Regions from separate parts of the Homo sapiens genome. Here region 2 is linked to region 1. Evidence: promoter capture Hi-C in 16 types of primary human blood cells and fetal thymus (Javierre and others, 2016). All regions are on one chromosome and are shown on one strand. The core of a region is centred on a gene start or on the middle of the fragment in contact, and the rest is flanking DNA. Distances in the headings are between cores, read along the strand shown. Region 1 holds the start of PLAA (phospholipase A2 activating protein). Region 2 has its middle 40 kb from the start of EQTN.

What was found. Contacts are between HindIII fragments. The CHiCAGO score rates a contact against its expected background, and 5 or more counts as called.
Region 2: a contact is called between a fragment that was not itself captured here and the fragment with the promoter of PLAA in region 1, in 1 of 17 cell types (megakaryocytes). The highest score is 5.2, in megakaryocytes.

Annotation. Positions count from the first base shown.
Region 1 is chr9:26,942,676-26,948,921 of GRCh38, forward strand. It overlaps PLAA (phospholipase A2 activating protein), which reads right to left and starts at 4,567. Exons shown (of 14, transcript NM_001031689.3): 1 at 4,222-4,567. The coding sequence starts at 4,370. It also overlaps a transcript of IFT74 not described here. RefSeq lists enhancers at 3,642-4,317, 4,061-4,320, 4,318-4,991, 4,581-4,890. The HindIII fragment of the contact is 3,001 bases long and covers 2,016-5,016 here.
Region 2 is chr9:27,253,856-27,259,982 of GRCh38, forward strand. It overlaps the pseudogene REXO6P. Among named protein-coding and RNA genes, the nearest start is that of EQTN, 40 kb to the right of the region's middle. The HindIII fragment of the contact is 189 bases long and covers 4,759-4,947 here.

The sequences.
Region 1 (6,246 bases), core at 3,317-5,816:
ATCCAGACCATCCTGGCTAACACTGTGAAACCCCGTCTCTACTAAAAATACAAAAAATTAGCCGGGCGCCGTGGCGGGCGCCTAAAGTCCCAGCTACTCGGGAGGCTAAGGCAGAATGGCGTCAACCCGGGAGGCGGGGCTTGCAGTGAGCCGAGACAGCGCCACTGCACTCCGGCCTGGGCGACAGAGCGAGACTCGTCTCAAAAAAAAAAAAAAAAAAAAAGGCACAGAAAAAGATGCATACGTGATGGGGTGAGTGGAAGGCAGAAAGAGAGCTAAATTCTCATATTCTACAGTAGGAACTAATAGATTACAACTAAAAAATCTATTAATATAGATTAATATAATCAGATCCTATATCTGAAGATGTGTCTTCAAGCATGGGTCGTTTTTCAAAAGGCAAGGCAATATAAAGGCAAAGCTGCTGAAGTCCTATCTCACTCATCTCTCCCCACCCAGAAGTCAACGACAGACTTGGGAAATGTAATTTAGCTTGAAGCTAGCTTATAGAGACCTGAAGTAGTCTGAAACAATGGCATGTTGCTGGCTCAGTTCAATGCCCAACCAACAGATATGTCTCCACTCTGAAGGTCCAAAGACTTTCTGGGTTTTCAAAGGGCTTTTGTGAAAGACTAGGTACCTGGTTTAGTCTACTCTAAAACAGAACTATTTCTGCCTCCCTAGAACTAACTTTCCCCATTATTCCCAGTCCATCCCTACATTTACTACCCTGATCTAGAACCTTAGCAACAACATACATGGAAAGCAGTGGTAAATTCATTTGCATCAGAGGTAGACAGACCAGGTCAGATTCAGTAAGAGGCAATTCAGTAATGAACAAAGAATTTGAAGTTGAATCAGTGGTACTGATTCAAATTTACAGTGGTAAATTTCATTTACCACTTGGCTACATGGGAAAGCAAATTTCATTTACGACTTCACTCCAAACATTTATAGCATTTCATTAACTCTATTAATATGCTGTTATGAGCTGGGAGTGGTGGTTCACACCTTTAATCCCAACACTTTGGAAGGCTGAGGCAGGAGGATTGCTTAAGCCCAGGAGTTTGAGACCAGCCTGGGCAATCTAGTAAGACGCTCATCTCTACAAAAATAAATAAATAAAAATTAGCTGGGCATAGTGGTTCTTGCCTGTAGTCCCAGTTACTTAAGAGGCTGAGGTGGGAGGATTGTTTGAGCCCAGAAGGTCGAGGCTGCAATAAGGCAGTGATCATGCCATTGCATTCCAGCCTGGGCAACAAAGCAAGACCCTGTGTCAAAAAAACAAAATCACACAAATATTCTATTATGGCCTGAACGTGTCCCCCAAAGTTCATGTGCTGGAAACTTAACCTTCAATGCAACCATGTTGAGAAGTAGAACCTTTAAGAGGTGATTAGATCAAGAGGGTTCTGCCGCCATGAATAGATTAATGTCATTATTGCGGGACTGGGTTAGAGAGTGGCTTTGTTACAAAAGCAAGTTTGGCCCCTCTGCGCCTCTTGCTGTGTGCTCTCCTACCCTTCCACCATAGGATGATACAGCAGCAAAGAGGCCCTCTCAAGATGCCGATACCTTGATAATGGACTTCCCAGCATCCAGAACTATGAAAAATACATTTCTTTTCTTTACAAATTACCCAGTCTGTGGTATTCTGCTACAGCAACACAAAAGAGAAGACATGTATCATGAAATAAAAATTGTCAATATGTCAGATTTGAGGACACTTTTACAACATTAAAGGTATGGTTGAGACACTTCAGTTGGCATCAATAAGAGCTTAATCACCTAATGACTATGAAACACTCTAACCCTGGGGTATCCAATCTTTTGACTTTCCTGGGCCACATTGGAAGAAAAATTGTCTTTGGCCACGCATAAAATACACTAATAATTACAATAGCTGATGAGCATTTTTAAAAAAATCACAAAAAAAGCCTCATAATGTTTTAAGAAAGTTTATGAAATTTGTGTTGGGCCACTCTTACAGCCACCCATGGGCCACAGGATGGACAAGCTTGCTAACCTAACCAGCAGGATATGAGAGACTAAATAATCTTATCTCACTACGCACTAACACACACTGTGGCAAAATGCAAGTTCTTCATCAGTGTTAGATAAATACATACAGGAATGAATTTTGAAAAACAAAAACAAAAAAATCATGAGTTCGGCCAGGCGTGGTGGCTCACGCCTGTAATCCCAACACTGGGAGGCCAAGGTGGGCAGATCACCTGAGGTCAGGAGTTCAAGACCAGCCTGACCAACATGGAGAAACCCCATCTCTACTAAAAATACAAAATTAGCCGGGCATGGTGGCACATGCCTGTAATCACAGCTTCTTGGGAGGCTGAGGCAAGAGAATCGCTTGAACCCCGGAGGCGGAGGTTGCAGTGAGCCAAGATTGTGCCATTGCACTCCAGCCTGGGCAACAAGAGCAAAACTCTGTCTCAAAAAAAAAAAATCAATAGTTCAATGAACAACAAAATCACTTTTCAAATAGAGAATCAGTTCAGCCCAAAGTTCTTCAAGTTCCTGGTAAGCACAACCACTCCAGTGATTAAACCCTTGTCAAACTAGTACAGTCCCAAAAGTTTAATGACAGGATTCCATTATTAAAACAGGCATCCTTGATTATACTCCTTACTGCAATGGTTATATTCTACTGGGCTTATGCTTCTACTGGATTCAATTTTAAAGGCAAAAACTTAATAACTGTACTCAAACAAAAAGTTCCATATTAGTATTACTAAGTAGTTTTGGATATTATAGAATTTTAGAGTTAGATCTTTAGAGATCATCTCATTCAATTCAATACAGGAATTTGCTCTATACTATCCCTAGCCTAGTGGACCATCTTGTGTTGATTATACTACTTCAAAAGCCTCCAAGCAAACCCACTTCTACACTTATCCCTTCTCAATCTATTCTCTACCATCAGCTAGCAGAAACTTCTCAACACGGAAATCAGATCATGTTGCTCCCTGCTTGAAACTATTTGAAGGCTTCCATCTGCAAACTCCATAACCTGGCTCTTGCCAGCCTCAAAACCTGCCCTCACCTCACAGCTAATTCCCTCCTGTTTGCTCCTCCAGCTGCCTGGAATGCTCTTCCAATTCAATCCTCCCTATTTGCTCTTCCACGACCAGCTCCATCCATCTCATGCTTCAAATGTCAACTTTAAACAAACAACTCCTCAGAGAGGCTTCCTTTAATATATCTCTCCACCTAATTAACTGTATGTTTTCTTCACATGCCAGTTTTTAATTATTTATTGGCTTGTTTTTTAATCTATCTTCCCCATCAGACTGTAAGAAAGCTCCAGAAACACTGGCAACTTGTCTGTCTTTATTCCTCTCCAGTATCCCAAACAAAGAGGAGGCACTCAACAGTTATCAACTGAATTTATGGATGGTGACTCAAATTCTAAAATCTCTAGCAGTGGGAGACCTACTAAATAACAAAATAACTAACCTCAATTTTTCTTTCTCTGAACTGCAATCTGTCTTCTAGGTCTTAAATATCCTGTTACAACCAGCCAAATCAGGGCTGAACCCGTGAACTCGATCAGGACTGATTCCTAACCTTTTTCTTCTTTTTTTTTTTGGTTCGTGAACCCTTCTGATAAATCCTTTGAAGGCAATGGATGCTGCTTCTCCTCAAGAAACAGCACATGCACAGAAACAAAACATCCGAGAGGTTTCACTCCCTCAGGACCAGCACAGACCACAGACTAAAATTCTAACCTGGACGAAAAGAGGATTCACCAGTGCAATTTTTGAGAACTAAAGTCTTCAAAAATTAAATTTTACAGAAGACTACAGAGCATCTTCTTCGAAAAAAAAAAAAAAAGAGGACATTTCAGATGCCTTCAAACTACCTCACTTCGGAGGGTGCAACTGCAATCAGTAAATTTTCAAGTCTAAAAGAAACTTGGGAGATCATCGTCCAAAAACTGAAGGCCCAAAAGGTAGGAGACTCGTCTGTGGTCAAGTTAGCACAACAAGGCAGGTCTTTGGTCCCCCAACCCTGTGCTCTTTCCACTTAAATCCCGATGGTTTCTTACAGAGTTCTAATAGTCTGAGAATTGGAAGGGAGCGGAGAGCAGAGGGAAGGCTGGGGGGAGAGAGAGACGGCAGGACTGACAGGGAAGGGTCACTCTCCTTCCACTCTCCGGGAAGCGTGCAACACAGCCGGGGCAACCCGACTCCCAGCGCTCACCTGTCTGGGGCCCAGAGGCGGGTGGTGCGGTCTCGGGACACGGACACAAAGGCTCCCGGCGGATAGGCGCAGCACACCAGGCCCCGTACGTCCAGCTCGTGGCCCCGGAGCGAGCAGCTCAGCCGGTACCTGGTTGCGCCGCTCGTCATGGCCAGTGTCTGTCTGGCGCCCGGTGCCCAGGCACTGTGCGAGACCAGTCCGCAGGGGCGACTCGGAGAGCGCCGGGCCGCGGCGGGAGAAGAGCCTGCAGGTAAGGGGCGGCCGGAGACCGGAAGAGCCCGAGAGCCGGTACGGAAGGGCGGCTGGGAAGGGGCGCGCCGAGCGGGCCGAGTGACACAGCAAGCCTGACAGGCACTCCGGAATTCATCATCGGCCTCAGCCCTCCATGACGCAGAGTGTGTGCGTCCCAACCGCCGACGCCGATGCGGAGCTGAGCTGGCTTTCCTCCAGGGCTCTGGACTCCCTGCTGAGCAAGAGAGAAAGAGGCCCGCCCTTCCACCAGGACGCCTGACCCTGGGGTCCTTCCCAAACCCGGGTCTCTTCCGACTCCGGGCCCAACAGTTTGTGGTAAATCGGGAAGCGGGCCGGGACTACAATTCCCATAATGCCGCGCCAGCTGGCGTGGACATCCGGCGCGCCGAATCCGGATATTTTAAACCTGAGTCTTTCGCGCTGGGCATGGCGGAATGGCTGAGTGAGGTTGTTTGGTGTCTACTGTTAGGTCATCCTCACTGCTTTTCCCTGAGAATCTCGAGGTTTTTGCAAGTTAACCTTGTTTTTCAATTAAAACGAGAAAGCTTGAGGCCAAATTGGGAACTATTAATCATTGAACTATTCCTCCGTTTCAAGTTATCTGAATCTCCTACTCTCTGTTGTCAAATTTAGCAAATACGGTGGTCCAAGTCAATTTTTTAAAGGTATAACTACTTTTCTCTGGCGGCTTGTTAAAATGTAGATTCTGATTCAGTAGGTCTGAGTTAGAGCTGAGATACGTATTTTTAACAACCCCGCCGCCCACCCACCCGTGGTGCTACTTGCTAGTCATTATCAGACCTTATTGAGTGCCAGGGTAAACATGACCTGTCTCCTTACTTTGTTTTCTTCCCATCCGCTATTCTCTCGCATCCAACTACACTTTTCCACAAACCTTTCTAAATTGCTAAGCCCAATTCACACTTTTCTGACTTCTCCCTTCCTAAAACTCCTACTCTAGGTTTGGAATCACTTTTCCCCTGGTTTGGGAGATCATTCTTGAAATGCTGACTTTTGATACTTCTTTGCTATCATATCCCCTCCCTGGGTGGATTATTTACTACTTGGCTTATTTCTAGAGCTGTATTCCCATATTGTCTTCTCCAAACTCTAGATCTGTATTTCTAGCTATCTGTTAGAAATCTGTACCAATTAGTCCTACTTAAATTATTTCAACATTTCTCTGGCCTTTCTACCCCTTCTCTCCAGCCAATCCTACACATTAAAATATAATTATCTTTCTGAAATATACACTTAATTGTTTTTTCTCTGTTTGACAACCTGTGATGGCTTTCCATTATTTTTTTTTTTTTTTTTTTTTTTTTTTTTTTTTTTTTTTTGAGACGGAGTGTCGCTCTGCTGCCAGGCTGAGTGCAGTGGCGCGATCTCGGCTCACTGCAACCCTCGCCTCCCGGGTTCAAGCGATTCCTGCCTCAGCCTCCCGAGTAGCTGGGACTACAGGAGCGCGCCACCATGCCCAGCTAAATTTTGTGTTTTTAGTAGAAACGAGTTTCACCATGTTGGCCAGGATAGTCTCAATCTCTTGACCTCATAATCTGCCCTCCTCTGCCTTCCAAAGTGCTGGATTATAAGCGTGAGCCACCACGCCTGGCCGGCTTTCCATTCTTATAGTACAGCATTACATAGGGCCTTTCACACAATCTCCCTAATCTGTTTTACTAGATTCATCTCCCTCTGTTATCTCTCTTACTCTAGACATTTCGAATTTGTCACAATTCCCTGAACACATTATGCTGTATGCTCTCCATGTCT
Region 2 (6,127 bases), core at 3,603-6,102, 310 kb after region 1:
TAGTCTCTGATAAAACAGACTTTAAACCAACAAAGATCAAAAGAAACAAAGAAGGGCACTGCATGATGGTAAAGGGATCAATGCACCAAGAACTGCTATCTATCCTAAATATATACGCACCCAATACAGGAGCACCCAGATTCATAAAGCAAGTTTCTAGAGATCTATAGAGAGACTTAGACTCCCACATAATAATAGTGGGAGACTTTAACACTCCGTTGTCAATATTAGACAGATCAACGAGACAAAATTAACAAGGATATTCAGGACTTCATCTCGGCTCTGGACCAAGTGCACCTAATAGACATCTATAGAACTCTCCACACCATATCAACAGAATATACATTATTCTCAGCACCTCATCGCACTTATTCTAAAATCTACCACATAATTGAAAGTAAAAGAATGCAAATCATAACAGTCTCTCAGACCACAGTGCAATCAAGTTAGAATTCAGGATTAAGAAACTCACTCAAAACCCTACAACTACATGGAAACTGAACAACCTGCTCCTGAATGACTACTGGGTAAATAACAAAATGAAAACAGAAATAAAGATTTTCTTTGAAACCAATGAGAACAAAGATACAATGTACCAGAATCTCTAGGACACATTTGACATATTTAAAGCAGTGTGTAGAGGGAAATTTATAGCAGTAAATGCCCACAAGAGAAAGCAGGAAAGATCTAAAAATCAACAACCTAACATCACAATTAAAAGAACTAGAGAAGCAACAGCAAACAAATTCAGAAGCTAGCAGCAGACAAGAAATAACTAAGATCAGAGCAGAACTGAAGGAGCTAGAGACACGAAAAACCCTTCAAAAAATTCAATGAATCCAGTAGGTGTTTTGAAAAGATAAAAAAAATAGACCACTAGCCAGACTAATAAAGAAGAGAGAAGAATGAAATAGACAAAAAAAGTTGATAAAGGGGTTATCACCACCGATCCCAGAGAAATACAGACTACCATCAGAGAATACTATAAACACCTCTACGCAAATAAACTGAAAAAACTAGAAGAAATGGATATATTCCTGGACACATACCCCCTCCCAAGTCTAAACCAGGAAGAAGTCAAATCCCTGAATAGACCAATAACAAGTTTTGAAATTGAGGCAGTAATTTACAGCCTACCAACCAAAAAAAGTCCAGGACCAGATGGATTCACAACCAGATTCTACCAGAGGTACAAAGAGGAGCTGGTACCATTCCTTCTGAAACTATTCCAAACAATAGAAAAAGAGGGAATCCTCCCTAACTCATTTTACAAGGCCAACATCCTCTGATACCCAAACCTGGCAGAGACACAACAAAAAAAGAAAATTTCAGGCCAATATCCCTGATGAACATCAATGCAAAAATCCTCCATAAAATACTGGCAAACCAAATCCAACAGCACACCAAAAAGCTTATCCACCATCATCAAGTGGGCTTCATCCCTGGGATGGAAGGCTGGTTCAATATATGCAAATCAATAATCGTAATCCATCACATGAACAGAACCAATGAAAAAAACCACATGATTATCTCAATAGATGCAGAAAAGGCCTTCGACAAAATTCAAGACCCCTTCATGCAAAAAGCTCTCAATAAACTAGGTATCGATGGAACTTATCTCAAAATAATAAGAGCTATTTATGACAAACCCACAGCCAACATACTGAATGCGCAAAAACTGGAAGCATTCCCTTTAAAAACCGGCACAAGACAAGGACACCCTCTCTCACCCCTCCTATTCAACATAGTATTGGAAGTTCTGGACAGGGCAATCAGGCAAGAGAAAGATATAAAGTGTATTCAAATAGGAGGAGAGGAAGTCAAATTGTCTCTGTTTGCAGATGATATGGTCATGTATTTAGAAAACCCCATTGTCTCAGCCCAAAATCTCCTTAAGCTGATAAGCAACTTCAGCAAAGTCTCAGGATACAAAATCAACGTGCAAAAATCACAAGCATTCTTTTTTTTTTTTTTTTTTTTTTGAGACGGAGTCTCGCTCTGTCGCCCAGGCTGGAGTGCAGTGGCGCGATCTCGGCTCACTGCCATTCTTATACACCAATAACAGACAAACAGAGAGCCAAATCATGAGTGACATCCCATTCACAATAGCTACAAAGAGAATAAAATACCTGGGAATCCAACTTACAAGGGATGTGAAGGACCTCTTCAAGGAAAACTACAAACCACTGCTTAAGGAAATAAGAGAGGACACAAACAAATGGAAAAACATTCCATGCTCATGAATAGGAAGAATCAATGTCGTGAAAATGGCCATATTGTCCAAAGTAATTTATAGATTCAATGCTATCCCCATCAAGCTACCACTGACTTTCTTCACAGAATTGGAAAAAACTACTTTAACGTTCATATGGAACCAAAAAAAGAGCCTGCATAGCCAAGACAATCCTGGGCAAGGAAAACAAAGGTGGAGGCATCACGCTACCTGACTTCAAACTATACTACAAGGCTACAGTAACAAAACAGCATGGTACTGGTACCAAAACAGATATATAGACCAATGGAACAGGACAGAGGTCTCAGGAATAACACCACACATCTACAACCATCTGTTCTTTGACAAACCTGACACAAACAATGGGGAAAAGATTCCCTATTTAATAAATGGTGTTGGGAAAACTGGCTAGCCATATGCAGAAAACTGAAATTGGACCCCTTTCCTTACACCTTATACAAAAATCAACTCGAGATGGATCAAAGACTTAAACGTAAGACCTAGGACTATAAAAATCCTGGAAGAAAACCTGGGCAATACCATTGAGGACATAGGCATGGGCAAAGACTTCATGTCTAAAACACCAGAAGCAATGGCAACAAAAGCGAAAATAGACAACTGGGATCTAATTAAACTAAAGAGCTTCTGCACAGCAAAATAAACTATCATCAGTATGAAGAGGCAACCTGCAGAATGGGAGAAAATTTTTGCAATCTATCCATCTGACAAAGGGCTAATATCCAGAATCTACAAGGACTTCAACAAATTTACAAGAAAAAAAAAACCACCAAAAAATGGGCAAAGGATATGAACAGACACTTCTCAAAAGAGGACATTTATGCAGCCAACAGACATATGAAAAAATGCTCATCATCACTGGTCATTAGAGAAATGCAAATCAAAACCACAATGAGATACCATCTCACGCCACTTAGAATGGTGATCATTAAAAAGTCAGGAAACAATAGATGCTGGAGAAGATGTGGAGAAATAGGAATGCTTTTACACTGTTGGTGGGAGTGTAAACTAGTTCAACCATTGTGGAAGACAGTATTGCAATTCCTCAAGGATCTAGAACCAGAAATACCATTTGACCCACCAATCCCATTACTGGGTATATACCCAAAGGATTATAAATCATTCTACTATAAAAACACTTGCACACTTATGTTTGTTGTGGCACTGTTCACAATAGCGAAGACTTGGAACCAACCCAAATATCCACCAATGATCGACTGGATAAAGAAAATGTGGCACATATACACCATGGAATAAAAAATGATGAGTTCATGTCCTTTGCAGGGACATGGATAAAGCTGGAAACCATCATTCTCAGGAAACTATCACAAGAACAGAAAACCAAACGCCGCATGTTCTCACTCATAAGTGGGATATGAACAATGAGAACACATGGACACAGGGAGGGGAAAAACACACATCAGGGCCTGTTGGTGGGTGGGGAGCTAGGGGAGGGATAACATTAGGAGAAATACCTCATGTAAGTGACAGGTTGACGGGTGCAGCAAACCACCATGGCACGTGTATACCTTTGTAACAAAACTGCACGTTCTGCACATGTACCCCAGAATTTAAAGTATAATAACAATAATAAAAAGATCTTAAGCTGGAAAATGGAATACTGTCTTCTATCTTTAGTATAAGGAAATGCCACAAATCTTCTTTCCAAATATACAATGGGGAATAAAAACTTATCTTATGTTTTATTAAAGATGACTATTCATATGTTTGACATGTACAAAGCACTTTCCTATATTTTAGCATATCTGATTTTCATAGTCACTATGGGGTTGTTACTGACTCCATAATTTACAGCTTAGAGCATCTAAGAGACTTGCTCAGAAGGTCACAGCTAGTAGAACTTTCCAGGTCTTGTAATTCCAAATTCTGTTTTCCCCACTTTTTAGCACTGATTCTTATGTAAAGGAACATAAGTCCCTATAAAGATTTTATTGTCTCTAGAAATGATTTTGCCAAAAGCATTAAAGCTTTTATGCTGATTATTTTTCACTCACATAATTTCAGCAATTTGATGAGTAGAATTACCACTATTTGTATATTTTAGAAATTTGACCGATAAAAAGACACTCAGGACAGTTCCTGGCTCCATCGCTCTAGGTGCGTGAACTTAACCAATTCACTAACTCTTCTCAGCTTTAATGGCTTCATCTGAAAATTTGTGAACAACCAATGCAGCACTGTGTCGTCAAGGAATAAGGCCCTGGAAACCCTTCTACCAGGTAGACTGCTACACAATCATTCAGTCATAATAACCACAGTAAAGTAAAATATAAAACCAACATACCATCTCACAACTTACTGCAAACACACGGTGATTACCATCAGCAGGTGGGAACTTGACAAAAGTCTTCACAAAGCCCTTTAGGTTTTCTTTGTGGTCATGAACATGAAGCTGAAACAAACATTGTCAAATAAATTACTGTTTTTTCTAAGTACAATTAGGCTCATAAAATGTCATCAACTGAAAATTAGTTAATTTTTTCAAAAGCTTATCCATCACCAAGGCCTGTGTTGGAGGCTACAACTTGGTTTCTGAAACAGGCAGCACTTTGGGTGACAAGTCCTACCTTGGCGACCTGACACCGGGGCGATCCAAGGAAACCTCCACAACAGCCGTATTGAGATTCAAAGCCACTGAGGACTGTAAACCAACCGAAAAAATAAAAATCAAAACAAGCTTTACAAGGCAGAGTGACTAACTCTCATGAACATGCATTTTCTTTGACCCTTAAAGAGCTTTAAGGACTCTACTGTGCAAATATTTTTAAGTCACCTCTCTTCAGTTACTTTTTTAGATATTGCATAATAGACAAAAATCTATTCCGATAAGCAGAGTTCTCACGGGCCATGCTTGAAGGTGAATTATAATTGCTAATGTTGTGAACACCTTTCTTCCCCTCTTTTTATCATTTGCCCTGGCCCATCAGCTCTCCTCTGGCTTCCTTACTTTATCCTGCATTGACTGGTTTGACAGTCAAACCACTTCAATCATCCTCTCAACATCTACTCTTACTCCCTGACCTTTTCTTTCTGCTAGAACCTTCTGTATGACTAGTTCCAACTACCACCTTCTCCATTCCTGTATCCAGATTTTTATCCAACCCAAGAAAAATCACCCAGTTATGCAGACTGAGACCACAATACAGATGTTGGCTCCAACCTTGGCTGGACCTTCAAAGTCCTGATGCCTTCGGCTTTTGCATCCTTCGCCAGACACCTTGCACGTTCTTCGCAGCAATAATCTCAATACTTCATATCTCTTTTCTTACCCTACTCCTATCATCCACCTCATCCATACCCTTACCTACCCTGAGCCCTTCTGTCTGGCCCTAGGAAATATTCTCCCAATTGCTCCCTAACAAGTCCCTCTGCCTCCAGGGAGTTTTTGCACTAGTTTTTGCACTAGTTTTTCTAGTAAAAACTGCCATACAAAGCCCTTTCTACAAAATGGTAAGAAAAGCTCAGGGTGTAAAAGTAACGTGCCCGGGAAAGCAAGCAGCAGAACAGCCCCAACTCTCAGCTCTGCTGGCTCCGAAGTCCCTGTTCTGCCCATTATCCTGTATGGTCCCATCAGCCCAACTGGTTTGTTTGCTACACTTATTCTTCCTCAGCATCTTCCCTCCTTGTTCGTCTTCTTGGAATTCACAGTCTCCCACTTTCCCAAACTAAGCCCTCCATGCTTTAAAGATGGATTGAGCTTGTCTGATTTACTTGATGACATTATTTATTCATATATTTTTCCTCCCATGGTTCCCCTCTATTTCCTTTTTATAGGATTTATTACAATATTATCCATAGTTATGTCCACATCTACATAAATAATTTACCTGTTCACCCATCCAAATGTTTACTGAT